Linked DNA regions of Homo sapiens: region 1 is linked to region 2. The links are contacts of gene promoters, found by promoter capture Hi-C in human tissues and cell types (Jung and others, 2019). All regions are on one chromosome and are shown on one strand. The core of a region is centred on a gene start or on the middle of the fragment in contact, and the rest is flanking DNA. Distances in the headings are between cores, read along the strand shown.

What was found. The method cuts DNA at HindIII sites, captures the fragments that hold promoters and counts their contacts. A contact is called where the count stands out against the background at its distance.
Region 1: a fragment that was not itself captured here is called in contact with the fragment with the promoter of ADIRF in region 2 in 2 of the 25 tissues and cell types used here (aorta and heart right ventricle).

What each region holds. Positions count from the first base shown.
Region 1 is chr10:87,145,617-87,148,481 of GRCh38, forward strand. All of the region lies in intron 2 of SHLD2 (shieldin complex subunit 2), which reads left to right. Among named protein-coding and RNA genes, the nearest start is that of SHLD2, 52 kb to the left of the region's middle. The HindIII fragment of the contact is 4,468 bases long and covers 1-2,865 here.
Region 2 is chr10:86,967,079-86,970,124 of GRCh38, forward strand. It overlaps ADIRF (adipogenesis regulatory factor), which reads left to right and starts at 1,404. Exons shown (of 3, transcript NM_006829.3): 1 at 1,404-1,527. The coding sequence starts at 1,467. It overlaps ADIRF-AS1 (ADIRF antisense RNA 1), which reads right to left. Exons shown (of 2, transcript NR_170185.1): 1 at 1,964-3,046. RefSeq lists enhancers at 1-90, 1-110, 91-843, 2,350-3,046 and a silencer at 2,214-2,508. The HindIII fragment of the contact is 7,922 bases long and covers 1-2,381 here.

The DNA of each region.
Region 1 (2,865 bases), core at 74-2,573, 180 kb after region 2:
CTTTTAATGATACATGTTTTGTAATAAGCATTTTTTTTAGTTGCAGTGTTCTGCAAAGACAAAACCTGCTGATACAGTTCATCCTGTTTTAGAAATCTTTGACCCATTCATCAGACTCTGACCACTCTAAAGATAAAGGATTATGGTTGTATTGGTTTTTCCGACTGAAGCGGCTTTCTGCAGATTGAGAAATTGTATAATTATTAACTGCGGTAATGGAGATGTACTTGCAAGTTTCATCTGGTATCTTAATGAGCTTTAACCCTCTGAATACACCTAAAACATATCCTAGAATTATTGAAATTAATCAGTTGTCCATAACTTTTCTGTCTGTATAATTTGGCTATCATACATATTTTGTTTCCCCCTGCCCTTGCCAGTTTCCATCCTCCTACTCACATACTCACAACTCCTATAAATTGGAGTATTTAGTAGCAGTAGCCTTTGGTATAAACACTTTTTAAAAATTTACTATTTTTTGATTTAATAGGGCCACTTTCTAGTCAAATTTTTTTTGGGGGTGGTGAGGAGGGTAGGGTAACAGTTCCACACTTACAAGGGTATTTGTTTAGACGAAGCTTGTTCAACCCACAGCCTGTGGGGCTGCATGTGGTCCAGGACGGCTTTAAATGCAACCCAACATGAGTTTGTAAACTTTCTTAAAACATTATGAGTTCTTTTTGAGATTTTTTTTCGAGACAGAGTCTCGCTCTGTTGTCCAGGCTGGAGTGCAGTGGCCCGATCTTGGCTCACTGCAACCTCCACCTCCTGGGTTCAAGCGATTCTCCTGCCTCAGCCTCTGGTGTAGCTGGGATTACAGGTGTGTGCCATCACTCCAAGCTAATTTTTGTATTTTTAGTAGAGACGGGGTTTTACCATGTTGGGCAGGCTGGTCTCAAACTCCTGACCTCAAGTGATCTGCCCACCTTGGCCTCCCAAAGTGCTGGGATTATAAGCTTGAGCCACCGCGCCCAGCCTGCGATTTTTTTTTTTTTAAGCTCATTAGCTATCATTAGTGTTAACTGTATTTTATGTGTGGCCCAAGACAATTCTCCTTCTTCCATTGTGGCCCAGGGAAGCCAAAAGATTAGACACCCCTGATTTAGACAAATAAGTGAAGGCACACTGAAATAACAATTATATATAATAACCTTGTGCCGCCCAGCGTGGTGGCTCATGCCTCTAATCTCAGCACTTTGGGAGGCCGAAGCAGGCGGATCAGCTGAGGTTGGGAGTTCGAGACCAGCCTGACTTACATGGAGAAACCCCATCTCTACTAAAAATACAAAATTAGCTGGGCATGGTGGTGCATGCCTGTAATCTCAGCTACTTGGGAGGCTGAGGCAGGAGAATCGCTTAAACCCAGGAGGCAGAGGTTGCAGTGAGCTGAGATCGTGCCATTGCACTCCAGCCTGGGTGACAAAAGCGAGACTCTGTCTCAAAAAAAAAAAAAAAGAAAAAAAAAAAAAAAACAAAAAAACCTTGTGTTTTATGGATCTCACATTCATCTCAGATATTTCTTGCCCTGAGAGATCCTCTGAATTCTCAGGATTGCTTCATGTTGATTCTACTGTGATCCTATCAAATATAGTAATGCTAGAAATATAGGTCTGAAGTTTGGGAGAGAGATTGGCTCAGTATAGATATGTAAAGCACAGTTGGATATGTGGTAGTTATATGAATGGGATTGGATGAAATTCTCTAGAGGTGTGTGGAATGGAAAGAGGTGGCCCAAGGAGGAAGAGAGAGAGAGAGAAATTGGAGAGGTAGAACAATTTAGGAAAGAGTAATGTTCTAGAAACTAAGGAGAGAGTTTCACAACTGCAGTGGTGAAGCACTGTGAGTTCTTATTTGGCAATTTGGACTTCATTATTGTCTTATCACAGATAGGAAATGAAAGGTTGCAGAACATTTAGGAGAAAATATTAAGTGAGGACACAGAAGCGGTAAATGTCGTATACACCTTTTAAACATTTTGGAGATTACCCATAGTAGGCCTGTCCCTTGGGTAAGGCAATTAGGGCAGCTTTCCTGGGCCCTATTTTGGGGTGGGGAATGACTCGGGGACTTTATTATATGACTTTTTTTCTGAACATTAATAAAATTCAGTTCCAAAATTTTGTGATTAACTGTAGTCCTAAGAGCCTACGAAAAATGCAGATAATGGGCAGTTCCACATTGGTTGAACTGCCCCAGGCTTCTCTCTTCTAGAGTTGCTGTCCCTTCCTTTTAATCCTGTAGTAGCTCCTATCACTTTTTTTTTTTTTTTGAGACAGAGTCACCCAGACTGGAGTGCAGTGGTGTGATCTCAGCTCACTGTAACTTCTGCCTCCTGGGTTCAAGCGATTCTCATGCCTCAGCCTCCTGAGTAGCTGGGATTACAGGTGCGTGCCACCACACCTGGCTAATTTTCGTATTTTTACAGGATTTTACCATGTTGCCTAGGCTAGTCTTGAACTCCTGACCTCAGGTGATCCACTTGCCTCAGCCTCCCGAAGTTCTGGGATTACAGGCGTGAGCCAAGGCTCCTGGCCTCCTGTCACTTTTTATAATTGTCAGTTTGTTTTTCCTCTCAGAAATTAAGCTCCTTAAAGCTCTCTATTATTGTTTTGAATTCCCAGGGCCTAGCATAATGCCCAGCACGTAATGTTGAATGTTTGTTACGTAAGTGATTGAAGGAATAATCCAATACATATCTGTCTTAAGTACAAAAGAATTCCAATATGGTGGTCTCACAGAGTCAAAAAAGCGGAATGTTTCAGAAAAGAGGGATTGATAAACAGTTTCAAATGGTAGTAAAAGTATTGAAAACTGACCTTTGGATTTGGCTTCTAGAAGGTCATTGGTTTCCATAGTGAAAACTTT
Region 2 (3,046 bases), core at 154-2,653:
TTCCTCCACCTAATCTCATCACCTGCCTCTTCCCTTTGCCCAGGGTTGACCTCATCTCCATTAATCCATACCGTGTGTGTGTGTGTGTGTGTGTGTGTGTGTGTGTGTGTGTGTGTGTGTGTACAGGTGCACTTCCAAACAACTCCCTCTAGGGGCTGACCCCGCAGCACTAGAAGCAGGGTATGTGCCAGCAGACCAAGCCTGTGTGGCAGGGGCTTCCCAGCGCTCCAGAATAGGGGAGACACCAGCAGAGGTGCAAGAAACAGCCCCGGACAGGAAGCGGTAGAGAGACCCAGAAAGGCAGGGTGGGTGTGCACTGGCCTCCAGGTCCTGAAGGCCTACTCTGGAGTGGGAGTATACCCAGCTGGGTGGGGCCTGACCTACACCCCTTGTGTGCCAGGGGAATGTATCTTGCAAGCTGTTTTGCTGCACCCAAGGATGATCTTCTCCACTCAGGCCCAGGTCCCTAAGTCCCCTCCTAACAGCCACAAGTCATACTCTCTAGCGCCTTGCCTGCCCCATCTCAGGAAAGGTGACCTGAGAGGCCCAAGCTTATTCCTGCCCTCCCTGAGCCATGCTTCCTGCCCAACTTCCTAAGGCTTCGGTGACAGACGGCAATCTCCTTGCCTGGGCTGCACAGGCACACTGCCCTCTCCCCCTTGGGGTTGCATGGTCTGCAAGTGCACACACCTGTATCTCGCCCTCTCAGGGGAAAGATTTACCAGGCCCTCTCCGGCTGCATCCACTGGGTCTCTGGCTACAGGCAGAGAGCCAGTCAGCAGTGCCCCTGCAGCTGTTTGGGGCTGGGGGCTCCGATGATGCCAGAGCCCTAGGGTTTACAGGCACCTAGGCAGATTCGAGGATCCAAGTCCCTGCCACATGCGTTTGGGTGAGACCGACCTCACTGCCTCAGTTTCCTCCTATACACTGATGCTATCAACAAAAATACCCACTTCAGGAGGTGGTTGTAAAGATTATACAAGAGACTGCAGAGCGTTAGGCAGCACCTGGCACAAGACAAATGCTCAGTAAAAGACCACTGCTGTCATTAAGGTCAACACCAGCCCTGAGCTCCTGCCCTGGAGCTGACCCAGCGCTCACGCCCAGGATCAGAAAGGGAGGGCTGGGGCTGATGAGCTGGGAGGTGGTGTGCGCCCTTCTCCTGCCTCCAGCTCCTCTCTGGACCCCTGTCCTGGCACCTCTTCGGTCCCTGGTTCGGTCTGCCCCTTTCCCACCGCGGCCCGTCTTAGGCCAGGATGTGCTCCCTGCCCTGCGGACTCTGGAGCAGGGCCCGGCCACTCCCCGGAGCCTGTATGACGGGAACCGCCCCGCGCCCTCTCCCCTACGCGGGGCAGGCCAGCCCTGGGGCGCCTTAAAAACCGGAGCTGGCGCTTGGCATCGCCACTCTGGGCAGGATCCAACGTCGCTCCAGCTGCTCTTGACGACTCCACAGATACCCCGAAGCCATGGCAAGCAAGGGCTTGCAGGACCTGAAGCAACAGGTGGAGGGGACCGCCCAGGAAGCCGGTGAGGATAGCGCGCGACCTAGGGCTCAGGCAGGGGCACCTGCGTGGATGCGCAGGCAGAAGCAGCGGGTCGGCGCGGTCCGCAAGTTCCTGGACCGGCAGCTTGGCTCGGAAGGCTCGGTCCTCCACTGAGACGCAGGGGGCAGGCAGAACGCCCACCCCGGCGAGCAGACAGATGGTGCCCGCAGGGAGGCAGCGGAACAGAGGCTCCGGAGGAGCCGGAGCTGCGCTGCGGGCACTGCGGGAGCCCCTCCAAGGAGGCCATGCTGGCGCTGGGCGGCCCGCCCAGGCCCTCAGGAGAGGGTGAAGGTCCAGGACAGGGATCGGGCGCGGCCCGCCACCACTTAAACCCGCGCGCGCCACCAGAGGCTGCCCCAGACCTCAAAGGGCTTTGTTTCCATCCCACCCCCATCGCCGAAAAGTAATCGTCGCCTTACCTTTAAGTCCCCACCTGGCAAAGAAGGTCCTTAGTTCCTCCACCTCCAGCTCTCTCCTCCGTATTCTGGAGGTGACCCAGCTGCGGTGGGGGCGTGGGAGATGTCAGGAGACCACTGGGTTGGTTCTTCCTGCACCTAGCCCAGGCTTCGTTAGGACTCCAGCTCCCTGTCAGTCCTGCCCATATCCCAGTCAGGAGACAATATCCAAACCAACCCCTTACTTCACCAGTGCTCCAGGGGAGGCCCACAGTTCTTCCCTTGAGACTGAAATGCTACCAAGGAAGCCTCCGTGTCAGGTCCCTTCCTTCTGGGCTTCACTTTTCCATCTGAGAGCTGGGTGCAAAGGATGGGCTGCTTTCTGATGGGTTAATCGAGACGAGGTTCCCAGGGGCCTCTCAGCACACTTGCCTGACTAACCCTTTCCGGAGGATGGGATCTGGGTAAGGCAGGCCCTTTCCTGTTCAGCAGCAGGGATGAGTTACAGCTCTGTAGGCGGGAGCCACCTGTCAGCCCCCCCGGGGCTGGTGACTCCATTCCCAGCAGGCCGAAACTCTGGTCCAGAGGAGATAGTCCGGCCTTGGAAGTTTTGCCTCCTTCCTTCATTTGTCTCCTAATGTCTTAAGCTGCCTGTCCACAGAGGCACTGGCTTTGCTTGTGTGCCCCTCCGGGCAGGCCACAGGAGGGAGGAGGCAGTAAGGACCTGGCAAAACTGCAAGCCCCAGGGCTAAGTGCATGAAAGGTGGGAATTCAGGCATCTGGGCCAGGCTTCTAGGGGAGAAGCTGTAAAAGGGGGCAAGGGTCTTCTGCGCCATCACCAGCATTAGCCAACAGTCCAGATGCTAGCTGCAGCCTGGCCCTGCCCTGCCTTCCTTCCTCTGTCCAACATTTTCTCAGTAGCCCTGGAGATGGAAAGGGAAGCTCCTCCCCCACAGAGAAGGAGCTCAGAGTTAGAAATAAACAAAAACATCCCAGAGGCATGGAAAGGTCTCCTGCCCCTCGGGCTGGGGGGCCCTGGGCCAGGGACTTTATCTCCATGGCATCCATCCCTTGGACCTGTACCACCGAATACTCTGGAGGACACAG